Linked DNA regions of Homo sapiens: regions 2, 3, 4, 5, 6 and 7 are each linked to region 1. Evidence: promoter capture Hi-C in 16 types of primary human blood cells and fetal thymus (Javierre and others, 2016). All regions are on one chromosome and are shown on one strand. Each heading gives the region's core, a stretch centred on a gene start or on the middle of the fragment in contact. The rest is flanking DNA. Distances are from core to core; before and after follow the strand shown. Region 1 holds the start of CDR2 (cerebellar degeneration related protein 2). Region 2 holds the start of ACSM3 (acyl-CoA synthetase medium chain family member 3). Region 3 overlaps DCUN1D3 (defective in cullin neddylation 1 domain containing 3). Region 4 overlaps LYRM1 (LYR motif containing 1). Region 5 holds the start of THUMPD1 (THUMP domain 1 NAT10 acetyltransferase adaptor). Region 6 overlaps DCUN1D3 (defective in cullin neddylation 1 domain containing 3). Region 7 overlaps LDAF1 (lipid droplet assembly factor 1).

Region 1 (3,627 bases), core at 789-3,288:
CAGTGGTTGCCTCACAAATCCTGGAGAAACTATCAAACTAGGCCATCAATCCTTACGGGGAAATCTGAAAACAGGTTTGTTAATATGTATAATAAATTTGTCTCTTGGACATAAAGAAGATGGTGCCAAACACTGCACTGCAACCACTAAGTAGCTTGGACTCTGTAAGTGTAATAAAGGTGAATTACTTTGGTTAAAGTGATTGCATGTTAATTTAAGAAATTATCTTCCTCCAAAAGAGGTGCTCATTTTATTTTCCTTTTCTGAGTTATTCAGGTCTACATTCTTTTCTTCTGCCATGTTCAGTGGTTAGCATGAACAAGCAACATGATCATTTAATATTCAACTAAATGAGATGTTAATTTTCATTGCAAGATTAGAGCTGAGAGCATTTACACAGAATTGCAGAAACTGAAGATGCCTGGAAAAATTCCTGAGGATTGTTCAGTACTCAGTATAGCGGTTAAGAACGTTTGCTCTGGAGTCTTAAGGAGAACCCTAGCACTCCCCAACATTACTACCTCTATTGTGTTACTGGGAGAATTAAATGAGCAACTGTGTTATGGGCCTATCAGTGTTAGGCACATAAAAAGTGTTCCCCAACTGCTAGCTCCTGCTATTAGTATAAGAAAAACAGGGGCCCCACTGGCCCCAAAGAGTGGGCTACTCTACGATTGTTCTCTGGAGACACCATCGGCAGGCCTGTTTCTAAGTGAAAGCTGGCGTGCAAACTGAAGAAAAGTGGCAGAGATAGATGCGCTCTTTCTTCTGTCGTTTCAATTGGCATCTGGTGAACTATGCCTAACAGCTTAACGCCCAACTGAAAAAAACTGTAAACTAGGATGGTAAGGAAGAGATGGGGTTTGAGCAGTGACTACAACTCTTCTTCTGAGTGTGTGGGTTCAAAAAACACTCCCTCCCACACTTAGCTTTAGGCAAGCCACTTTACCGTTTTAATCTCCGCTTTCCTCATATGGAAAATGGGATAACAAAAGTGTGTAATTGGATTGTTTGTACCTCAATGGATAAATGCTGGGATGGACGCCCCGTTCTCCATCACGTGCTTATTTCACACTGCGTGCCTGTATCCAAACATCTCATGTACCCCACAAATATATACACCTACCATGTACCCTCAAACATTAATTTTTAAAAAGTTACTGTCTCCTGGAGTTACGGTGCGGAGCGCACAGCTCCCGCTACGCCGCAAAACAACTACCACCTGCAGCAGCCGGCCCTCCACGCTGGCCATGAAAGGCGCTGGGCTAGACAGCCTGCGACGGGGCGGCTTCTCGGGCTATGCCACTTACTGCGGGACACACTGGCTCACCCGGGTCTGCCTCGGAGGAATGCAGTGAGGATTAAACTAGCTAATCCACGGAAAGCGCTTAAAACGGTGCCTGGCTCGTCCCTGGCCCCCACGCGCCTCGGGGCTGATATTCAACTGCGCATTAGCAAGGCCGTGGGCCCCGTGCCGAGGCTTCCTGCGGGCGGGATCCGCGGGCACGGCCGGCCCAGCCGCCAGGTGAGCCTGAGCCCTTCCCGGCACCTGCATCCTCCGCCGCCACAAAAAGCAACTTTTTAACAGTTTCGCAGCGGGGGCCTCCCGGGCCAGGCCGCCGCCCGCCCGCGGGGCGCCCCCGCCCTCACCTTGCTGGAGGTCCTGGTGGTCGTACCACGGCTCGTCCTCCTTCATCTCAAACTCCTCTACCAGGTTTTCCGCCAGCATCTCGGCTGGGTCTTCTAGGGGCAGCGGCCCCCGCCGCCGTCCCGCCTCAGCCGCTGCCCCGGGCTCTTCCCCGGCCCCTCCGCCCTCAGCCAGAGCCGCCCTCGGGCGGGACGCGCCGCCGCCCAGACTCCGCTGCGCCGCCTCAGCCCCGTTCCCGCCGGCGGCCGCCGACCGGCCGGCTGCCTCGACTCGCCTCGCGCCTACCGACGGCCCCAACGGCCGGGCATTACGGTGCGAACGCCTGGAGCCGGAGTCTCACGCAGCCGCCAGTCTTCACGCCGCCGCCGGGCCCAACGTGGCACTTTGGCAGAACCCTCCCCGGCCGGGGATGCGATTCAAACCCCCGGCGGCGCCTCAACCAATCGCGAGCGGGCTGCTGGCCGAGCGGCAGGGACTTCGTCCAATCGCCTCTCTCCAAAGACCGGCGGCTCGCCCGGTATCGAGGGCAAGCAGCCAATGGTGGGTCCGGAATAAACAAAGAAGGCGGGGAAAGAGTGAAGGGGTGCGGCCGAAAGCCCGTCCCCTGATCTGCGCTGTGAGGCTCCTAGGAGGGCGTTCTGGGTTTCGGGCTGGGGAGCTGGCAGAGGCGCGTCTTACCCCTGTGGTGGGTGTCCCGAGGCCGGCGCGTCTGTGGACAGGCAACGCAGGCCGGAGGGCCTAGGACTCCGGCCTCTGAGAGGCGGGCGGTTGTCCAGGGGAGTCCTTCGTGCCGGCGGGAAGCGCAAGGGTGCCGGAAGCCTGAGGTCCGCCGCCCGGCCACCCCTTCTCGCATCTTGACTCTGAGATTTGCTCCGGGTCCGGCGGGGAGACTCGAGGTCGATCGGGAGTTTGGGTTGAGAAAACGCCCACTGAGCGGTAGCTCTTGTCTCCTTGACATCTGAGCCCTGGGAATTAAACTCACGCTACATAAAACGGTGGGCACCAGACCCCCTTGAGAATCTGGGGCGGTGAGGGATGCCCGAAGCTGTCCACTTGGAGGGCGAAAATTGTAAGCAGTGTTGCAACGATTTTTAAAAGGTACCCCTAGACCACAAGTTAAGCATCTGGGGACGTGACATTGCACCTGGAGGGGACAGGCTGCAGCTCCAGCACTTAGTAGCCAGCGAGGCAGAGCACGCTGTCCTCCACCGACATAACCCAGCAAATACTGCTCCTAGGTAAAGCTTTAAGCACCATCTTGCAGACAAAGCACGGAAACTCTTAAGCAGGATGACAGACCTGAAGGTCAATGTTCTCAACCTTGACGTAAAGGTAAAGGTGCAGCTGATGGAAGACAACAGGGCCAATATCTAACTAACTTTGAGCAACGAAACAAAAAAAAATCGAGGTTTAAGTATACAATTGAAAGATTATCTCTAGAACATGAGGTAATAAACTGTTAGAAATTCAGAGAGAGGGAAGAGGTGGAGAGGAGTGTTAAATCCTGATCTATTTTAGAAGTGAGTCGACAGATAATACCTTACATTGATAATCCAATGAATAGTTTCCACAAATATGGAGAGAGCTGCCAGAACTAAAAATGGGAAGCAATTAAGAGTTTTCCGAGGCTGGACACGGTGGCTCACGCCTGTAATCCCAGCATTTTGGGAGGCCGAGGCGGGCGGATCACCTGAGGTCGAGAGTTCGAGGCCAGCCTGACCAACATGGAGAAACCCCATCTCTACTAAAAATACAAAATTAGCTGGGCGTGGTGGCGCATGCCTGTAATCCCAACTACTTGGAAGGCTGAGGCAGGAGAATTGCTTGAAACCCGGGAGGTGGAAGTTGCAGTGAGCCGAGATTGCGCCATTGCACTCCAGCCTGGGCAAAAACTGCGTCTCAAAAACCAAACAAAAAAAAAAAGTTTTCCTAAGAGGAGGAGTGATTTGAGGCTGGGGACTTTGGCTTTTTGTTATAAA
Region 2 (3,464 bases), core at 511-3,010, 1.6 Mb before region 1:
AATGGTATGTGAGAGTAGAAAAAAAAACACTGTTTTTTCCCTGTCTCTAATAATGAGCTTAACATCAGAATAGAAATAATAGAAGAAAAAAATCAAAGAACTGGAAGCCAGAATTTACTCAACCTGAACAAAAGAAAGAAACTAGAATGGGAAAAAAAAGAAAAAAAAGAACAGAGCCTCAGGGACCTGTGAAACTATCATAAAAGATCTAACATGGGGGCTAAAAATTTACTCCAAGAAATAATAGCTGAAAAGTTCTCAAATTTGTCAAGAGACATAACTATAGAATTCAGCAATACAGAAAAAGAAATATACAACAGGACCAAGCAAGGTTTATTCCAGGGAGGCAAGGCTGGTTCAATATTAGAAGATCAGTGTAATCTATCTTATTAACAGGCTAAAGAAGAAAAACACCACATGCTTATAGTAACTGATGCAGAAAAAACACTTGCCAAAATTCAACACCTATTCATGATAAAAACACTCAGAAAAAAATAGAAATAGAGGAGAATTTCCTCAACTTGATAAAGGGCATCTACACAAAACCTACTACTAATATTGTACCTAACCATGAAAGACTGAATGTTTTCCCTCTAAGATCAAAAGCAAGGCAAGGATGTCTGCTCTCATCACTCTTATTCAACGTAGAGCTAGACACTCTAGCCTGCGCAATAAGGCAAGAAAAGGAAATAAAACGCATATAGATCTGAAAGAAAGAAGTAAGATCTGTTTACTTATTTACAGGTAATGTGATTACACAGAAAATCCCAAGGAATCAACAACAAAAGACTCCTAGAACTCAAAAGTGACCAACAAATTCCTCTTTAAGTAAAGTTGGGTCTCTCACATGTAATTGAAAGAGTCCTTTATTTATTCACATATCCATCAACTATTTATTGAATGCCTAAAATTTGCCAGTAGCTATTCCAGGCAATAGATACACCATCAAACAAAAAGAGTTCTTACCCTCAAGGGTGATAGTAAGAGATGTAAAAAGTTAAAAAATGGTAAAAGAGAAAAAATGAAGAGTGCTACTTTAGAAAATGAGGTAAGGGAAGAGTTATTTAATAAGACACCTCAGAAAATGAGGAATTTGGCCAGGGGGATATCTGAGGAAAGAGTTCCAGTCAGTGGAAACTGTGAATTCAGAAAGCCTGAGGCTGAAACAGGCAAGTGTGTTTGAGAAAAAGCAAGGAGGCCGGTGGCTGTGCAGAGTGAGGCAGAGGAAGGAGAATGGGCTGTGGATCAGAGGACCCTGTGCCAGATCATACAACTCCTTGCAGTTCATGTAAGGACTCGGATTTTACCTGGAGTGGAAAAAGAAGCACTGAAAGATTTGAGCAGGGGAGTAACCTGATAGCGTTTATGTTTAGTCCTGCCACTTCGACAGATAAACGCACCAATGGGCTTGATGAGATTTAGGCCAACCCATAACCGCCCCTCAACTTCTTTCCTTTCAATTTCAAAACTCCTCTATGGCTTCCTCCATCTGTTCTTCCTTCTGAGAAGTGCTCTCTCTGCCCCTTTACAGAACTAACCACTTCGGCAACTCCTTGGACACTTTCCTTCTTGTTAATAATTTGCTTTCTCCGCCCCTCAAAAGCTTGCTGTTTCTGTAAATCATTACCTGTAAGAGGAACCGCTGGGAGTCCTGTAAACTTTAGCCCAGAGCTTGGCTCCTCCTCCAGAATGTCTCCACCAATCAAGGAAAGTGTTTTGGGCCAGTCTTGCTCCTCCGGATTGTCAGACTGCTCCTCCCTCTTCTTTAGACTGCCACGAGGAAAAAGCAGATGTGAGAACTCAAGGTTCAGGGCTGCTCTTCTAAGAAACAAGTCTGCCATAATCTCCATCTGTGTTGGAATCTGTTAACTAGTGAGTACCTCATCTCCCCTCCTGTGTAAGATTTCCTGAACTGGCACATCTGTTTTTTGAGCAAAGATAACAAACAGATGAACAAAACCAACAATCAAAAATGCTGTCATTAAAGTCTTGGGCAGCCAAAGTTTCTCTCAGAATTTCTCAGTTGTGTGATACTATCTATTAAGTGATGAGGAGTATGCACACACAAAAGGCTATAAATGTAGCAGCTGAGTTTTCATGTTGAGCCTTTTGGTGCTATTTGATTTTTTGAAAAACTATGTACATGTATTAAGTTGATAAATTTTTTTTTTAATTTTAATTGAACCAGATGCGGTGGCTCAAGCCTGTAATCCCACCACTTTAGGAGGCTATGGTGGGCAGATGCAGATCACTTGAGGCCAGGAGTTCGAGACCAGCTTGGCCAACATGGTGAAACCCTATCTCTACTGAAAATAAAAAATTAGCCAGGTGTGGTGGCAGGTGCCTGTAACCCCAGCTACTTGGGAGCCTGAGGCAGTAGAGTCACTTGAACCTGGGAGGTGGAGTTTGCAGTAAGCTGAGATTGCATCACTGCACTCCAGCCTGGGTGACAGAACAAGACTCCATCTCAAAAAAAAGACCAGGTAGTGGCTGAGATTTTCATTGTACTGTCTGCTTAGCTCCCCACCTTGCTCAGTGACAGATGGGAATCCATCTTCTGCATCATCCAGAAAGTATGTAAATTACTTCCAGGAAACTTTGGGAAACACAGATGCAAACCTAAGAGCAGCCAGTTTTCTCCTTTAGGTGGTCAAGGGCAGCTGCAAAAGTTCTGTATAGGAGGGGCTTCAGGCAGGGTCTGGTTGGGTTTGGAGACAACAGCAGTGAATTTACCTTGCGTTGAGGCTGTATATGTTAAACTACTGTTATTACTTGGATACTTAGAGGGAGGGATGTTTAGGGAGCTGTGGGGAGGCTAAAGCCCCCTTGGCTGTAGGGACAAAGAGCTTGCATTTCAGATGAGACCTTAAATACTTTCAGAAGCCTATCTGACCAGGGGTGGTACTGTCTTTCTTAGAAGAGTTTTCCTTACCAATGTTTCTGTGGCTCAGTATAAAAATCTGGAGTCACCCTGGGAAAGTTATCTCAGCAATTTTACCTACAAATAATTTTATAAACCTGGGAAATAGAAGTTGTAAAATGCTAAGATCGATGAAAAGGGAGGAAAAGAACTTTGTTGAGGAGAAGGTAATCTTATGGTTTTGATGAAGAGGATGTCGATATTTGCTTTTTGGTAGAACAGAATGGTTAGGTTCATTTTAAGCTCCAAATGACTGATCAATTTTCTTTTCAACATACGTTTGAAGGATTCTGAATGTGGTGTAGAGTATTGTATGGGAGCTAGGGAACAAATCATACTAAACTCTGATTCTATTCAGAATCAGCAAGCTAAGTATGATATATTTATCTCCAATCATATTAATATTTACATAATTATTTAATGTCTTCCTTAATAGTCTATAAGCTTCATGGGAGCAAGACCAGCCGTGTCTTGTTCACAGCTATATTTTCAGCATTTAGTACAGGTCTGGCATATACCAAGTGTTCAATAAATACACGGGTAA
Region 3 (3,502 bases), core at 766-3,265, 1.5 Mb before region 1:
GAAGTCTGGTTTAGCATTTTGCACTGGTGTTCGAGAACAGGCCCACTTGCTTATCTGAAAAACTTACAGTGCACTGACCATTTTGGGGTTGGTTTGGGGGGGAAAAAAAGAAAACTTACAGGGATAATGCCTCAACTCCTATTTGAATGTAATATGGTCACTTTCAGAACTATTCTGAAGAAAAAAGCCCAGCTTTCTATCAAGTATCCACAACCACTACTAAAACTAAGAAGCCTCTCATCCCACTACCATTAATAACCTCGCTTCACATATGCTTCACTATAGGGAGTCTTCTTTGAAAGATGAAGAGTTTGTGACAAAATGTTTGAGTACAGAACCCAAGAACACAGAGTCCAAACACCAAGGATTCAATTAAACTTTATCGGGTGCCTACACCAACTTGTTTGAGAGATGCAGTGCAACAGACAGAACAAGAATTAGTGCAGAGAAGGCCTGATTCTAGCCTTGCTGCTGCCTAGAGCTTGCTCTGTAACTTTAAGCATTTACTCATCTTTTTTTTTTTTTTTAAATGAGACAGGGTCTCACTCTGTCACCAAGGCTACAGTGCAGTGGTGCGATCTCAGCTCACTGCAGCCTGACCTTCTGGGCTCAAGTGATCCTGCTGCCTCAGCCTCCCAAGCAGGTGACACTACAGGTGCACACCACCACGCCCAGCTCCTTTCCCTTATTTCTTGTAAAATGAGGTCTCACTGTGTTGCCCAGACTGGTCTCAAACTCCTGGGCTCAAGAGATTCTCCCGTCTAAGCCTCCCAAAGTACTGGGATTACACGCATGCAGTGCATTACCATGCCTGGCCTACTTATTTTTCTTGATTTCTGTTTTCCCACTGAAAATAACCACTTTTCAACCTGTTTTCAGCCTCAGAACATTTTATTCAACTAGAATCTAATAGGGTAGCCCAATATAACAGAATATTACAGTAACTTTTCACAGACTGAAGTAGTAACGTGAAACAGAAGGAAAACAGCAAAACCCCCTCATCCCTGCCACAAGCATACTTCAACAATGGCGGAGAGGGCTCCTCAAAGCCCAGCTTGAAATAAACACCAGATATGCTAAGATTCTGCAAGGGTCTGACTTTTTCCTGCTTCTCCTAAACTTCAGGAAGGGGAATTAACAGCATTCAAAGTAGTAATGCTATGACTTGAGACTCGTTCAGAATCAAAATTAAAGGACACATACTAATCCACTTTAAGCAAACACTGCATAGAGTTCAAACCCATCATGAATGATAGAGAGCTAAAAGCTGTAACCCAACTCTGCCGCTTGTGTGGAAACAATCTGCTACTAAAATAAAGGAGCAGGCCAGGTGTGGTGGCTCACGCCTGTAACCCCAGCACTTTGGGAGGCCGAGGCAGGCAGATCACTTGAGGTGAGAAGTCTGAGACCAGCCTGGGCAACACAGCGAAACCCCATCTCTATTAAAAATACAATAAATTAGTGGTGCATGGTGGTGCAGGCCTGTAGTCCCAGCTACTCAGGAGGGCTGAGACAGGAGGATCGCTTGAGCCTGGGAGGTCGAGGCTGCCGTGAGCCTTGATCATGCCACTGCATTCCAGCCTGGGCCACTGAGTCCAGCCTGAGACTCTGTCTCAAAAAATAAATGAATACATAATAAATCAAAAAGGGGCAGGTTTTTTCAACACTTTCTCTTGGCCCAACAGGCAGAAAGAGGGGCAGTGGCTCCGAGATGCTAAGCAGTCTCAAAAATGAAGAGTCCCACACTATACACTGCTGCTATCTGAGATTCTTAGTCAGTCATCAGACCTGGTATGAATCTGCAGGCCCAAGTGACAGAATTATTTCTAGTCACCAGGTCCTGCGGTTGAGCCCTCCAGCAGAGCAGGGCACAAAAGGATCAGGGATGATGCTTCCCAACACTATGCAATCCAAGCTTCTGTGTGGCAATTCAATCCCAAGCCTAACAATATAGTACAGCTCAAAGGACACTCTTGAACAAGGTCAAGCCCTCAGGAAGGTAGACGAAGTCATTGACATGTCTGCCTTTGCATGCAACCAGGCTGGTATCCAGGCTCTGGGCACAGGTGACTTATTTTGCCACAAGAGCTAATCACCACCTCAAGACTGATTTACTAAGCTTCCCTGTTCTGATGTATGGTATTTAAAGAAGGTCTCATTTGCACACATCTTAAAGAAAATGATTTCCCTATCTGCCATTCTCTTCTTTCAACATGTCACAACTTCAAAGAATAAGAGTTTGAGCCACTTCCAATCTTTTCTTTCATTTTCAGTGCAATTGGCCATCTGTATCAATAGGTTCTACATTGGCAGATTCGACCAACCATGGGTCAAAAATATTTGGAAAAAAAAAACCTAATAACAATACAACAATAAAAAATAATATGAATTTTTTAAAATACAGCATAGCAACTATTTACATACCACTTACATTGTATTTGGCTGTTGTTTTTGAGATGGGGTCTTGCTCTGTCACCTAGGCTGGAGTGCAGCAGCTCCATCACGGCTACTACAGCCTCAACTTCCTGGGTTCAAGCAATTCTCCTGCCTTAGCCACCCCAGTAGCTGGGACTACAGGCATGCACCACCATGCCTGGCTAAGTTTTTTAAATTTTTTTAGAGACAGGGCCTGACTATCTTGCGTAGGCTGGACTTGAACTCCTGGCCTCCAAGCAATCCTCCCACATAATAAAACAAAAAGGGGGCAGGTATTTGTAGTAGCCTCCTAACGTGCTGGGATTACAGGAATGAGCCACCACACCCAAACTGTATTAGGCATTATAAGTAATCTGGAAATGCCTCCTGAGTAGCTGGGACTACAGATGTGCATCACCGCCACTCCCTGCACCTTCCCATATACTACCACTTTATGTAAGTCTTGATCATTTGTGAATTTGGTAACTAAGGGGTCCAAAACCAATCCCCCAGGATACCAAGGGGATGTAAATATGTTACGCTCTAGTTTGTAATTATTCACTGATTAAACGGTCAAGTTCTGTGGTAATCCCTTCTCACCACCCAAAAGAATAGGATTCACCATCATCTAGGAACACAGACGTAAGAACTAGTGAAACTAGATTTGAACTGAAAGACACTAACTCAATTAACCCTGGTCCATTGTGCAAAGAGCTCCAGAACAGTCTAAACAGACACAAAGAGATAATTTTAAGTTATCAAGACCCGGGAAAACAGGAGTTACCACGTCATTACCATTGTTTCAATCTAAGTTACCACTTCTTCACCTCAAAACAACTGGCAACTACTGCACAATTAAATGTCCTTACTTCAGCACATAGACAGTCCCAGACTACTTCAAGTACTTACACAACCATTCTGTTTTTCACTTCCAGTATTCACTCAATAAATTACATGAGATATTCAATATTTTATTATAAAATAGGCTCATTAGATGCATTTGCCAAACATGCCAAACATGCAGGTTCTTGGCATGTTTAAGGTAGGCTAGGCTAAGCTATGATGTTCGGTAGGTGAGGTATATTAA
Region 4 (3,741 bases), core at 175-2,674, 1.5 Mb before region 1:
TGGTTTTCCCAACCAGATCATCAGTTCCTTGAACATATAGACACGTTCTTATACTTATCTAGTATATCCCAAGGGACCTCCTTGTGGTTGTCACTAAATGAATGAGCAGCTATAAATACTTTGATTTAACTGACCTCCTCCAGGAAATCTTCCTCAGTTTCTCTGCTTCCCCCTCAACCCCATGCTGGCCGCCTGTTCTGAATTCCTATAGCTGTCTGTAGCAGTCACTGCATCCATTGATTATATACCACTGTGCCTTTTCTGTAGCTTCAGGTATCAGAGTTGTTCTGCCCAAGTAATAACTTTGATAGTTGAAGGCACTGTCCAGCCTGCGGTATTGGGGATATCATAGTACATGCCCAATAAACCTTTGCAAGCTCACTCACCTGAAGACTACTCAAGAGTTTCGGTTTTCAGTTATCGCAATAACCCTTCCTTTGCCTCGGCTTGGATTGGCTCGAGGAGTGAGCCAGAGGGAGGTGTATGTGCCACTGATGGTACATGAGATTATTTGGGAGTGGGCGGAAGAGGTACATGGGTTCTTAATTTTAAGATACGTACTTGCTTTAGCATGTGTTATAAAGGACAGAGAATATTAGACCACAGTTTCACAAATGCTATTGCTTAAGAGAGTCCATTTAATGAAAAATTTTAACATTAGTATAAGTAGTATGTGGATATGGCAGAATCATGCAGCCAGCCCGTGAATGACTGAATTTGGAGTACTGTAGCCCAAGCTTGTTCAGATAGACAGCTGAAGCCCCAGAAGCCCCAACCCCCTTAACCATATCTTTGTCAAGGGCTTTTTCTTTCTTCCTAGTCCCTCATGCAGACATAATGAGTTTCTTGTAACTTTGATTACTCTTAAGAGTTTAATAATCCAAAGGTATCCCATGAACTGCTCTGAATCTCAGTGGGCAAATGGGAACATGGAACTCTTTTCCAACACAGACAGCAAATCAGTGGCTTCTGAGAAGCACAGAGGTCAGAAAGTTGGGCCTCTGCCACAAGGGACTCACAGCTGTGGTTCTCTGCATTGCTGTTCCTGGAACTCTTCTCTGCTCCAAGAGGTACCATAGGACAGGAACGCCCTTGAAATTTCCAAGCCACATGGACCCAGACTTTGCTGCGTGGGTGTCATCTGGTGCTGATGCAATCCTAGCTCAGCTTTGAAGTCCACTTGCAAACTCCTAGCAGAGCCACGTCTTGATTCATTTTCCTACCTCATAATGAAAGAGTTTCTCCCTTTTTCCTACTTGGCTGTTTTTCAGAATGAACTTTTTATTCCTTTAATTGAGAGTGGATTACCATGATTTGACTATTTTGGAATTTCAAAAGCCCTTTGTTCCCCTTACTAATGAGCCAAGGCAGTTGACAGTTTAAGAGGTGTAGATCATTCTCCAGTGTCCTACTCTGGGGGTTTCAGGACAGCACTTGCAGAAACCATGGGGTTACTTTAAAGTTTAATCAACATGAGGGGGGTGTGAAGAAGCACTCTCAGTCAGTGTCGGTGAGAATATAATTTATAGATTGTTGGTAGGAATGTAAATTGGTGTGAACTCTAGAGAGTAATCTGGGAATATCTGTGAGAATTAAAAATGCATGAATCTATGCCTTTGTCCTAGCAGTCCTCTCTCTCTAGGAATTCATCTTTTAGATACATATGCATGTAAGCAAAGTAATTTTAGAGAGATCCATAGCGGAATCATTTATAATAGCAAAAAATTGGAAATAACTTAATTATCCATGGGTAGGAGATTGGTGAAATTATAATAAAGCCTTCTGTTGGAATTTTATATAGCTGTTAAAAAGAAGGGAGCAGCTCTATAGATAGAATATAGAAGGAACCTCAAGTTATGTTCATGAAAAAGCAAGGTTCAGAACAAAGGGAGCTATTGTTTGTGTGAGAAAAATAATCAGCTTCTACATACATGTGCATTTTCACATATACATAGAATACCCCTGCAAGAACACACAAGAAACTGCTAATTGTTGTCTCCGAGATGAGGAACTGGAATAGAGGAGTAAGAGGGAAACGTAGTTCTTATGTTACATCCTTTTGTATTATTTGAATTATTTTTACCTACTTTAACGATTTTAAAAGTTTATGGTAAGCTTTAATATTAAATTGCTTTTGATTTTCCAAATTAGTAACATTTCATTTACTGGCTAGTGAACTAAAAAAGTTTGAGAAAATGTATACCTATACTCTATGTACCATTAGAAAGATACTATCAGCCTCATTTCTTTCTCCCTTTTAATAGCTCACGGACACAGACCTAATTAAACAGTGTATAGATGAATGCACAGCCAGGATTGAAATTGGACTGCATTACAAGATTCCTTACCCAAGGCCAGTAAGTGTGACTCCGGTTAACAAGTGCTGGGTACTTACCCTCATCAACCTGGTTATTTCCAAGAATGTGTAACAAGAGGGCGAGTGCTTGCTGAGAAGCCCAGAGCTGCTGTGGGAGGCATGTTGGAAATAAGCTATCATTGCATGCTGCCAGCCCATCACAACAAAGTAAAATGTCAATGAATGCATGACGTATCCTGCTTACATAGCTTTCCACGTATGGAAGGGAAAACCAGCTCACACTGTAGAGCTTTTTCTCTTTTCACTTTCATCTTTTTTATGGAAATGTGTTTAATTATAAAAGGCAGGTTTGTTGTTACTAAAAGAATAAAGTTCAAACATGAAAGGAATGCATAAAGTAGAAAGTAAAAATGGTCAAAAATTCTCATCCAGGCTAGGCACTGCGGCTCATGCCTATAATCCTAGCACTTTGGGAGGCCAAGGCAGGAGGATCACTTGAGGTTAGGAGTTTGAGACCAGCCTGGGCAACACAGTGAGACCCCATTGCTATACAAAATTTAAAAATTAGCCAGGCATAGTGACACACTCCTGTATTCCCAGCTACTTGGGGAACTGAGGTGGGAGAATTGCTTCAGCCCAGGAGGTTGAGGCAGCAGTGACCCATGATCACACCACTGCGCTCCAGCCTGGGTGACAGAGTGAGACCCTGTCTCAAAAAATAAATAAAACTTAAATTTATATATATAAATTTAAAATAAAAAAATTATATAAACTTAATACATTCAGAAAGTTAAGAAACAAAATAAATTTCAAATTTATATGAATTTAAAATAATAAATGTATATAAATTTATGTTTTCTTAAATTCTTTCATACCATAAATTTAAAACAATAATTTAATTTAAAAGAAGTTTTATTTATTTATTTATTTGTGGAGACTGAGTCTTCGCTTCATCACCCAAGCTAGGTACAGTGGTACAGTCATGGCCCACTGCAGCCTTGACCTCCCAGGCTAAAGTGATTCTCCCACCTCACTTCCCCAAGTAGCTGGGACTACAAGCATGTGCCACCACGCCCAGCTAATGTTTTAATTTTTTGTAGAGATGGAGGTCTCACTGTGTTGCCCAGGCTGGTCTTGAACTCCTGGGCTCAAGCAATCCTCCCACCTCAGCCTCCCAAAGCTCTGGGATAACAGGCATGAGCCACCGTGCCTGGCCAGAAATCTTTTTTGTTTGTTCGTTTTTTTGGAGACAGAGTCTTACTCTGTCGCCCAGGCTGGAGTGCAGCATGATTTCTGCTCACTACAACCTCTGCCTTCCCAGTTCAAGTGATTCTCATTCCTCAACCTCTCGAATAGGTGGAACTACAGTCGTGCACCACCACACCCAGCTAATTTTTTGTATTTTAATAGAAACAGGGTTTCAC
Region 5 (3,514 bases), core at 301-2,800, 1.6 Mb before region 1:
CCGGCGCGAACTGGTGACGTCGGATATGAGCGACGGCCTCCCCTAGCCGGCCTCGAAGCCTCATTCCGTGCTGCGCCAGGTCCTAAGGCCGGTCTGCAATCGTGAAAGGGGTGGAGTGATACCCGCCCAAGCCCCGCCTCCTGCCCCGCCTCCCGACTGCAACCTGAATCCAGTAGAGGCAGCATAGCAGCCATTCTGGAAGTGGTGTCGGTGGCTCCTCAAGCCCTTGAAGCTGGCTCCAGCCATATAGCTTCTTCCACCCAACCTTGGTACCTGTTCCTCCAGCCTTCCCTATAATTCTGCCAGCTACTGTGGAGGAAAAGTTAAATATTAAATTTGAACTCAATTGAACGTGGACACAATGGTCAAGTCCCGTAACAGGTTGCATGAGCCCCTTGAGGCATTCATTCATCCAGCACTGTTACAGATAACTCTGTACCTGTACTTGAGTTATTGAAAAACAGACAATCACAGAAACAAGTTGACCTTTATGTGTTCCTTGAGCCCAGTCGAGAAGGGCCCTCGTGACTGGGCCTCATGCCAATCAACGCATTACAAAAAGAGCCAGGGTCGGCCGGGCACGGTGGCTCACGCCTGTAATCCCAGCACTTTGGGAGGCCAAGGCAGGCAGATCACGAGGTCAGGAGATGGAGACCATCCTGACCAACATCTCTACTAAAATGCAAAAAATTAGCCAGGCGTGGTGGCGCGCACCTGTAGTCCCAACTACTCGGGAGGCTGAGGCAGGGGAATCACTCGAACTCGGGAAGCGGCGGTTGCAGTAAGCCGAGATCGTGCCATTGCACTCCAGCCTGGCAACAAAGCGAGGCTCTGTCTCAAAAAAAAAAAAAAAATGAGCCAGGGTCCCAGGCCACACGGAAGCTTCTTGAGACCCCTCCTCCTCTGTGCACGGACAAGTGGCTGACTCTGGAGCCCAGGCTGTTGCTTCCCGGTCTGGTGATGAATCCAACATAGTCTGGTGCGTGTAAATATATATATATATATATATATTTTTTTTTTTTCCCTTCTCCCCTTCCCATTGCAATTTGCTTACTATATCATTTGCTTATTATATCTGCATTGCCATTTACGTGGGATAAAGGTTGTTTACCCCCAAAGGTATTGTATGTTTGTCTATTTTTTTTTTTTTTTTTTGAGATGGAGTCTCGCTCTGTCGCCCAGGCTGGAGTGCAGTGGTGCGATCTGGGCTCACTGCAAGCTCCGCCTCCCAGGTTCACCCCATTCTCCTGCCTCCCTCCCGAGTAGCTGGGACTACAGGCGCCCGCCACCACGCCCGGCTAATATTTTTTATTTTTAGTAGAGACGGGGTTTTACCGTGTCAGTCAGGATGGTCTCAATCTCCTGACCTCGTGATCCACCCGCCTCGGCCTCCCAAAGTGCTGAGATTACAGGCGTGAGCCACCGCGCCTGGCCGTATTTTGTCTTGTTTTTTCCCCTCGCGCATTTCCCACATAGAACAGTTACTCAAAAGGCTTCCAGTAAATTCCATTTCAGCCTCAATTTTCCAGGCTATGTTTCTATTTCACTTAAAACCAAGGATGTTGGCTGGTGTTGTTTCATGCTGCTTTCGTTGCGGCCTTTTATCCATAGTCTTGGCAACTTATCATGTTACTGTCTTTTTAAAAATCATTGAAGATGCCACTTTTGAAGAATGTGTTTAAAAAACAAGTGCTTCTCATACTACTCTTCAGGTACAAACCTCTTAGCAGATTTGAGTTCCTACAAAGCCCTAAAAGATGTAATCTGATATTTTGAAAGGGACACCGAATTCACAGTCAATAAACCCTAGGTTCTAACCCCAGATCTACCACTATGTCCAAAAATTTTATCATCTTATTGTTTGCTTTTACCTGTGTATTCAATACAGCATTTAATTTTCAGAATTTCTTTGGTGGACACTGCACAGCAGAGATTTCTAGAAGTCCTCAGTTGTTTGTGAAGAGCAGTGTCATGACACTGGCATTGGCCTTCCCCCAAATCTCTCTCTCTTCTGCTGGCTGGGTTTCAGTTGCCCACACTCTGCCACCTGTCCTTAGGATATCAAATATTAGCATACAGATAACAAGTTAAAATATATATATTTCAAGTCCCAAGCATATTTGAGTACTATATGGAGGCAAACTTGAAAAACAAAAACTCAGTTTTGTTAAAATATGTGAGGAGGCAGCTTTAGGCTAAATTTAAGTTTGGCCTAAATCAAGCTTGTCCAACCTGTTGGCCCACAGTCAACATGTGGCCCAGGACAGCTTTGAAATTCAACCGGCCCAACACAAATTAATAAACTTTCTTAAAACACTCTGAGGTTTTTCTGCAATTAAAAAAAATTCATCTGCTATTGTTAGCATTAGTATATTTTATGGGTGGCCCAAGAGGATTCTTCTTCCAAGGAAGCCAAAAGATTGGACATCCCTGGCCTACAGGTTTCTCCATACATAGTGAACTATAACCTAATTGGATGTGTAAACAGACTGTAATGGCTGTTGTAACAAGTAGCCAAATCTCAGCCAAGCACAGAAGCCATGCTCAACCACTCACAGGTGGCTGATTGTTCAAACCATGTTTTTTATTTTTATGTTTTTTGAGACGGAGTCTTGCTGTCGCACAGGATGGAGTGCACTGGTGCAGTCTCGGCTCACTGCAACGTCCACTTACTGGGTTCAAGCGATTCTCCTGCCTCAGCCTCCCAAGTAGCTGGGATTACCTGTGCATGCCACCACGGCCAACTAATTTTTGTATTTTTAGTAGATATGGGGTTTCACCATGTTGGCCAGGCTGATCTTGAACTCCTGACCTCAAGAGATCTGCCCACTTCGCCTCCCAAAGTGCTGGGATTACAGGCATGAGCCACTGCGCCCAGCCAAACCACGTTTAAATAAGGCAAATACTGAGTTGTAACCTATTGGGCTGTTTCTGTACCTTACTTCCATTTCCTGCACCTCACTTTTCTTTTTATGTCCATAAATCATCTCTGACCATGTGGCAGCACCAGGATGTCTCTAAACCTATTCCGGTTAGTGGGTCAGGGGCCTGCCTGATTTGAGAATCCTTCCTTGTGCAATTTAATTCTGTTAAATTTAATTTGTCTAAAGTTTTTTAACAGTTTATTGTATTTCATGGTTGCTGACTGTGCAGAGAATATCCAATGAAGTGAGAAAAATATGCAACCCTGTAGCTCTCAGTCTAGACGTTAGTTATCTAAATCACACACTCATCCTGTGGCAGCTGCCGGGGCTGCGTCCACTTACTTCCTCTTCTGAAACAGGCCCTCGTCCAGCTCTAAATAACTCAGCCTTCATTTATTCCTTATTATTCTTCTTTGTTCTTTTTTGCTTATTCTTTAGACTACATCTATTATTTCATGGCTGTGTGAACTTTCACCTCCTTAGGTTACCTCCCAGACATGGACAATGGCCCAGTGTCTATCCTTAGACACCAGGGACTCTGTCGCTTGAAAACCTCTCTTAGAAGGGACCACTTGGGGCCAGGCACGGTG
Region 6 (3,433 bases), core at 238-2,737, 1.5 Mb before region 1:
CTCCGTTATAAGCTTGCAGCTTGTTTTATTCCTTAGGATGGAGCCTCAGTAGAGCCCACTGAAAGTAAACCACTGATTAGCACTAATACCCTCCTTCCAGTCAGCATATGGTTATCAGCCACCCTGGAGGTTTACCTGATTGTAGCTGATTAGTCCTCAAAACACCCAATTACCACATCAACTGCTCATTTTTCAATCACCTTCTGAGAACTTGGGAGTCAGCAACTCACTGAAAATTAGTGAACTGGAGATAAGGTTAGATTTTTGCATCTAAGTAAAAGGCAAGAAAGGAAATTATGAAATGAGTCCAAAGACGACGAAGGAACACAACATACAGATGATAAATGACTGCATCCAAATGTCTTAAAGGGCACCTGGATGACCACAAATGTAGATATGTGGTTTCGGGAGCCAAAGGCCTCTAAGTAGGCCTCAGGTTCACCACGTGGTAACCAATCAACCTCTTAATGTTTGCTAATTCTTAAAAAAAAAAAAAAAAATCTAAATCCATTAAGACCACATTTATCAGCTTTTTCCCCACGATGGAGGTTGACTGCTAATGCATAGCAGACAGGAAGAGGAAGAGGGACAGAAAAGATCCACACAATAAAAGAATTCCTGCTTTCAACCACATCAGTAACCTGGTCAGAAAAGTGAGGTCACTAGACTCTCTTTCCTGCTGGCAAATTCAAAAGTATTACATAATTATTTTGTGAAGTTTAGAAAGTACAGAGAGGCATAAAGAAAAAAAAAGCCAATCACTAATTTCACCACCTACGGTTAATATTTTGGAGTATATCCTTTCAGTCTTGCTTCACTGCGAATCACATCAAAAAGGCTAACCAGGCTAGGCGCAGTGGCTCACGCCTGCAATCCCAGCACTTTGGGAGGCCAAGGCAGGTGGATCACGAGGTCAGGAGTTCAAGACCAGCCTGGCCAACATGGTGAAACCCCGTCTCTACTAAAAATACAAAAATTAGCTGGGCATGGTGGCACATGCCTGTAATCCCAGCTACTTGGGAACCTGAGGCAGGAGAACTGCTTGAAGTGGGACCTGGGAGGCAGAGGTAGCAGTGAGGAAGACTGTGCCACTGCACTCCAGCCTGGGCTACAGAGCGAGACTCTGTCTCAAAAAAAAAAAAAAAAACAACTAACCAATCCAATGATCCAGTGATTCTGGCTCCAGGGATTTTAAGGAAGTGTTTTTAAATGATGGGGGAATGGGGAGAAAAGCAGCTTAATCCTAAAGACATCTTTCACTTATATCTAAATTTCCTCAATTTATTCTTTCAAAAGAAGATCAACTTCCTCCTCACACTCCCTCCAAGGAAAAGAAGAGGACAAAGATGATGACCATCTTAAGGTCTAATGAGTAACAGTCCCCTTATCAAAGGTTTAACATCAGGGGTAGAAGGGTCTGGCCCATGGATTGAGTGATTCACATTCCCAGGGAGCAAGAGGCTCATTCAAAAGAGAAATGTGGAATGCCTGGAAATGGTCAATGGGCTGGATTTAGTGTGAAGACTAACATGGGCTGTCAAGCTGCAGACTGGGTCAAAGGACAGATTTGTAGCAGACGTGTCTGCCTTCCCAGCATCCAGGCTCTTCATCAGGTGATTACCCAATTTTCACCAGCAGATCCTTTTCCCTCGCTCTCGGCCATATGGCTGGGTGGGGTTCATAAAGAACTATGGGACTCAGCCCCACCAAGGCCTCACATGCCCCTGGCTTTAATGACTGGACCCAGGATATGCCCATGACAAGCCAGCCAGACAGAATCTCAACCCTGAAAATACAGGAGGCTGGAGATGCTACCAGAAAGAGCTACCAGAGAAAATAAGAATGCCTAGGGGGTCACTGTGAGGATTAAATGGTCCCTGTTTATCACATGGGGCTCAGCTCAAATGCATGTAGAACCCAAAAATGAAATCACCAAGTGGAAAGCAGTATGAAGAGACAAAGGGAAACTGAATTTTGAAGGCATTATTTACACCCTGAATCCAACTGTTCCTAGAGTCAAGATCAAAGCCTGAACTTCACAGGTGTGAGCCAACAAACTCTCCTTTGCATAAGTTAGATATCAGGTTTTCTATCACAACTGAAAGAGTCCCTACCAAGACACAGCTATGTCACTCAGATCTCTTCTATTCAGAGAGCAAAGAGAGAGAAGATCTAATTGCCAGATGTTCTGATTCATGGTTCAGAACCAACTGACTAGGCCACAATTTCTAGTCGAATATATCATAGGACCCTTAGCTGAACAACAGGACCAATGATCCCAAGTTCATGAAAGCTGTCAAATTCCATTATAACTACGTGGACCAGTAGGATGCTATTTAAAAGATGGTATGACTAACTGGCTACAAGAATCTTTCCAATTGCAATTTTTACACCGTTAGACCTCCTTCAAGTAGATATGCCACAGAATACTTCAGGAGCTTTATTCTATTGTGTACATATTTGCTGTCATCATCTTGTTCCCAAAGAGGAACCCCGTCCCAGCATTCAGACACCATGTGAAAGGCTGAAAGCAAAAATCTCTCAGAAGTCTTTCTCTGTACAATAACATGATCAACCTTCCAGCTGAAACAGGTATTTGATCTAAACCATATCCCATGAAACTGAAAGCCCAAATCTAACCTGAACTTGGCTACCCTCTTGGTTTCAATTCCTATCACTGAGACAATTTCTCTTTGATTTTACATGCCGAAGAGCCTATTAAGAAAGTGTTTAAGTTTCAAAGACTGACAGGAAATGCTCATGTTTGCACATCTTTATTTGAATACGTTCTCTGCAGGTTGAAACTTGAGGCCCCAAGGTTTAGGCTTTGATTTTTTTTTTTAAGTTACTTATTTTCACAAATGCTCATGTAGCATGAGGCCCCAGAGTACATTAACATGTGCAAAGATAAGCAGGTAATTAAAAATGGAGCTCTATACCTGTTGGAAGGCACTGTGGTACTGCAAGCTTTGCAAAGTAAGACATCTGATGATTCGTTCCTGCCCACTTCCCACCCACATGACCTGCCAAAATTGCTGCCACCTAATGGCCACCACAATGCTGTCTATTAAAACCCTGCCCTAGCAGCTATGCCCTATTTTAAGAAACAACATAAAAAATTTATAAAATAAAGCAGCAGCACCATAAGTTCTTTCAGTCATCAATAAGTCTGAAGACTCAAAGACAACTATGGCCCCAGAATAAACTGCGTGCGCTCATGCACACACACACACACACACACACACACACACACACACACACACACAAATGTTGCATCCAACAATAGGGGGTCCATGAAATTACATGCAACTTTTCTGAATTGCGTTCAGTGTCTTGACTGTTCTGCAACCAACATTCAATTCTCTCACTCAAAAACCAGTTGCACAGATATTGCAGCTCCTTCAGCTGCTCCAGTATAGTCATGTGCCTTCCA
Region 7 (3,612 bases), core at 1,000-3,499, 1.2 Mb before region 1:
AATTGTATGAGATTGGGACACCCCTCAAAATTCCAGGCAGTTTAGTTAGAGTATAATTACTGTGGTGAGGTCTGCCCCCGAGGTGCAGTTCTCCTTAGCAGGGATAGACTTACCCACAAGTAAGTAGATGATGATGTATGGAATGATGGAATTGGGAGCCAACCTGTACAGTAATAAAGAAGAGAAACAGGTCAAGGCTACTGTTGTACAAGGAAAGCTTTCTAGGGAGAATAAAAGGCAATGAGATTTGAAATAGTGTGTTCAGCTTTCTTGCTTTCTGTATATTTTCAGCATTTTGTCAAGCTAAAAAATAAACATAAGCTGTCAGAGATAATACTATTAACATTTTATCATCTTTTTTTAAAAGTATCATACACATCTTTTCACATCACTAAACAGTCACACTATCATTTTAATGACTGAATTTATCATTATTTAACCAATTTTCTCCTAATGGAAATACAGTTAGCTACTTTCCAATGTTTTGCTAGTCATTATATGTTATAAACAGGGATGCAATGCACAGCCTTTTAGTACATTTTGAGATACCTGTTGGATTATTTCCATCATGTTCCTGGAATATAAATTCCTGGATTGAAGTGTGTGCAATCTGAAATTGTTGTGAATATTGCCAGGTTACCCTCCGTCTGCATGCCCACCATCAAGGTATGAGGATGGTAGAAGCTCTCGTCGAACCAGATGGATGAAGACCACTAACGGCTTTTGTTTCCTCTGGTAACAGCAAGAGACAGAGCGACATGAGAGATTGGACCGCGGGCTGCACTGGAGAATTTACTGGTAGGATAATTCATCCCTAAAGAGATTGAAGTGAGCTTCAGAATGGCAAAAGAGGAGCCCCAGAGTATCTCAAGGGACTTGCAGGAACTGCAGAAGAAGCTGTCTCTGCTGATAGACTCCTTCCAGAATAACTCAAAGGTCAGTTTCCAATCACTATGTATAATGGAAAATCCCAATATAACACTAGCATAAACAAGATAGAAAGTTATTTCTTTCTCCAGTAGAAGGAATTTGGAGGTAAGTCAAGAATCTTTCTGGCTTACCGCCCTGCCATGTCTATGCTGTGACCTTCAAACTCCTTGTCTGAGATGACTGCAAGAGCATCAGCCATTGTATCCATCTTTCAGGCAACAGGATTTGAGGAGGGGGGAAGAGAGAAGTGCAAGCCACCTACAATTTAAGGAGACTTCTGGGAGTCGCACACAATACTTCCAATTACATCCCTTAAGCCAACATTGAGTCATTTGCCACTAATGGCAAATGCAATTCTTTAGCTGGATAAAGAAGTCTGTGCAACAGATATCATCCTTTTTTTGGTTTTGTTTGGTTTTGTTGTGAATTTTGCCCTATCTGTTACCCTGAAAATGAGAGACAAAAGCCTACTTCAAGATTTGAGTTCATTGTTCCACTAGGAATCCAGGTCCGATAGAAATATGATGTGAGTCACGTATGTAATTTAGAATTTTTCTAGTAGCCACATGTAAGAAGTAAAAAGAAATAGGTAAAATTAATTTTGGCTGGGCATAGTGGCTCCCGCCTGTGATCCTAGCACTTTGGGAGGCTGAGGTGGGTGGATCACTTGAGATCAGAAGTTCGAGATCAGCCTGGCGAACATGGTAAAACCCCATCTCTACTAAAATTACCAAAATGAGCAGGTGTGGTGGTAAGGCCTGTAGTCCCAGCTACTCGGGAGGCTGAGGCAGGAGAATCACTTGAACCCAGGAGGCGGAGGTTGCAGTGAGCTGAGATTGTGCCACCGCACTCCAGCCTGGGCGACAGAGCGAGATTCCGTCTCCAAAAAAAAAAAATTATTTTTAATAATGTTTTTATTCAACCTAAGATATCAAAAATATTTCAACATGTAATCATTTATACAAAATTATTAATGAAAAAAGATTCTTGAAACATTGTACCTTCTTTTTTGAACTCCCTCTTCAAAACCCCCCGTGCGCATATTTTACACTTCTAGCACATTTCAATTCGAGTTAGCCACTTTTTAGGTATTCAGTGGCCACTCAGTGGCAATGAGACTTCAGATAGCGTTATGTTTTCTTGCATATTTATCCTTATTGCTTTCTTCTATATGTCTTTCAGCATTTTGTCAGGGAAAAGAAAACAGCTTTCAGAGATAATACTGTTAACATTTTGTATGTCATTCTAGACCTTTTTTCTATGCAATATACCTATAAAAATACATATGTATATGTAACAAAATGAACTATTTTGTGGTGTATTTTTTTTTGTATTGGATAGCACAGCGGGTCTACTCGAAGAGATGCTTGTTTGCAATCTACAACAATAAATTCTGGACTTGCTCCAGAATTTATTTGGCACTCTTTGTGGATTTACCAAGCTATTTTTAAATTGGACAAGCAGCTTTCTCGCCAGCTGGCGGGGACTCTTGTTATTAAAAGTTAGCTCAGTAAGAAGGGTCCTCCTGCCTGTTCCACATTTACAGCTGATTCTCATTAACCATGGTAGTTACGTTCTATAAAGTTACTGCAGACACTGAATTAGCACATACCAAACCATCGCTCCTAGGGGAAATACAGGATTCAGTTGCTGTGAGCCTCCTGTTCACAACATTTTTGTCAGCTGATCAGTACATAACCTCGTTTTATGTGTATTTCTGTTTAAAGACATGTTAATATATATTGTTGATCATTAACGTTGAACTCAGGGCCAACAACAGTACTATGACTCATGTCTTAAACAAAGCTAATCACACACATGTATTTTCTGCATAAGGCACATCACAGCCTTCTCATGGTTAGGAACGCTAGAGAACACTTCAGCACTACACTTGGGGACCATTTTCAACAGTAAAATCACCAAACTAAAGCATAAACGTGGCACTAAATAGACCACAGTGACACTTGTTTAAAGGATGAAACAGGAAGGCTCGGTGTCACCTTGCTTGACCTCAGCTGGGAATGTACGTGGCAGGTGACTCCACTTTTTGCTGTTGTGGACGTGTCCACTAATGACCTCAAAAGCACTGCAGGCCAGGCGTGGTAGCTCACACCTGTAATCCTAGTACTTTGGGAGGCCGAGGCGGGTGGATCCCTTGAGCCAGAAGTTCAAGACCAGCCTGGCCAACATGATGAAACCCCTTCTCTACGAAAAATACAAAAATTAGCTGGGTGTGGTGGTGTGCGCCTGTAATCCTAGCCTCTTGGGAGGCTGAGGCACGAGAATCGCTTGAACCCAGGAGGTGAAGGTTGAAGGGAGCCAAGATCACACCACTGTACTCCAGCCTGGGTGACAGAGCAAGACTCTATCTCAGACAAAACAAAACAAAACAAAAAGCACTGCCAGTATTCATTTTGAGGTTACAAATAAATTTCAGTGAGGAGGCAAATTTACAAATATGGAATCATGAGTAATAAGGATTGACTGCATATTTCTTGGCACTGACTGTATGCCAAGCACTGCACTAGGCATTCACCCTGGCCCTGTCTGAACTTAGTTAATAGTCACGTTCACCTGCCTTTTTTGTTTGTTTGTTTTTGTATTTTTAGTAGAGACGGGGTTTCTCACCATTTTGGCCACGCTGATCTCCAACTCCTGACCTCAGGCAATCCACCCACTTCG

Evidence for each region. Contacts are between HindIII fragments. The CHiCAGO score rates a contact against its expected background, and 5 or more counts as called.
Region 2: the fragment with the promoter of ACSM3 here is called in contact with the fragment with the promoter of CDR2 in region 1 in 1 of 17 cell types (total B cells); the score reaches 8.2 in total B cells.
Region 3: a fragment that was not itself captured here is called in contact with the fragment with the promoter of CDR2 in region 1 in 3 of 17 cell types (fetal thymus, non-activated CD4 T cells and naive B cells); the score reaches 8.1 in fetal thymus.
Region 4: a fragment that was not itself captured here is called in contact with the fragment with the promoter of CDR2 in region 1 in 1 of 17 cell types (erythroblasts); the score reaches 5.6 in erythroblasts.
Region 5: a fragment that was not itself captured here is called in contact with the fragment with the promoter of CDR2 in region 1 in 1 of 17 cell types (fetal thymus); the score reaches 6.7 in fetal thymus.
Region 6: a contact is called between a fragment that was not itself captured here and the fragment with the promoter of CDR2 in region 1, in 1 of 17 cell types (fetal thymus). The highest score is 9.6, in fetal thymus.
Region 7: a fragment that was not itself captured here is called in contact with the fragment with the promoter of CDR2 in region 1 in 5 of 17 cell types (erythroblasts, total B cells, fetal thymus and 2 more); the score reaches 17.2 in erythroblasts.

The regions. Positions count from the first base shown.
Region 1 is chr16:22,372,581-22,376,207 of GRCh38, forward strand. CDR2 (cerebellar degeneration related protein 2) reads right to left here and starts at 2,039. Exons shown (of 5, transcript NM_001802.2): 1 at 1,651-2,039. The coding sequence starts at 1,729. It overlaps CDR2-DT (CDR2 divergent transcript), which reads left to right and starts at 2,307. Exons shown (of 3, transcript NR_148970.1): 1 at 2,307-2,643; 2 at 2,747-2,980. RefSeq lists a silencer at 1,572-1,801 and enhancers at 2,342-2,421, 2,762-2,811. The HindIII fragment of the contact is 4,746 bases long and covers 1-2,890 here.
Region 2 is chr16:20,762,254-20,765,717 of GRCh38, forward strand. ACSM3 (acyl-CoA synthetase medium chain family member 3) reads left to right here and starts at 1,761. Exons shown (of 14, transcript NM_005622.4): 1 at 1,761-1,872. RefSeq lists an enhancer at 1,898-2,027. The HindIII fragment of the contact is 1,761 bases long and covers 1,602-3,362 here.
Region 3 is chr16:20,892,661-20,896,162 of GRCh38, forward strand. All of the region lies in intron 1 of DCUN1D3 (defective in cullin neddylation 1 domain containing 3), which reads right to left. Among named protein-coding and RNA genes, the nearest start is that of DCUN1D3, 5.9 kb to the right of the region's middle. The HindIII fragment of the contact is 204 bases long and covers 1,914-2,117 here.
Region 4 is chr16:20,917,858-20,921,598 of GRCh38, forward strand. It overlaps LYRM1 (LYR motif containing 1), which reads left to right. Exons shown (of 4, transcript NM_001128302.3): 3 at 2,265-2,357. Among named protein-coding and RNA genes, the nearest start is that of LYRM1, 19 kb to the left of the region's middle. The HindIII fragment of the contact is 1,378 bases long and covers 736-2,113 here.
Region 5 is chr16:20,741,804-20,745,317 of GRCh38, forward strand. It overlaps THUMPD1 (THUMP domain 1 NAT10 acetyltransferase adaptor), which reads right to left and starts at 15. Exons shown (of 4, transcript NM_017736.5): 1 at 1-15. It also overlaps a transcript of ACSM3 not described here. RefSeq lists an enhancer at 1-90. The HindIII fragment of the contact is 1,340 bases long and covers 881-2,220 here.
Region 6 is chr16:20,871,991-20,875,423 of GRCh38, forward strand. The region is part of intron 1 of DCUN1D3 (defective in cullin neddylation 1 domain containing 3); the gene reads right to left. Among named protein-coding and RNA genes, the nearest start is that of DCUN1D3, 27 kb to the right of the region's middle. RefSeq lists enhancers at 2,373-2,472, 2,723-2,942. The HindIII fragment of the contact is 2,955 bases long and covers 11-2,965 here.
Region 7 is chr16:21,160,343-21,163,954 of GRCh38, forward strand. LDAF1 (lipid droplet assembly factor 1) reads left to right here. Exons shown (of 5, transcript NM_001301771.2): 2 at 743-936. The coding sequence starts at 841. Among named protein-coding and RNA genes, the nearest start is that of LDAF1, 3.5 kb to the left of the region's middle. The HindIII fragment of the contact is 4,069 bases long and covers 216-3,612 here.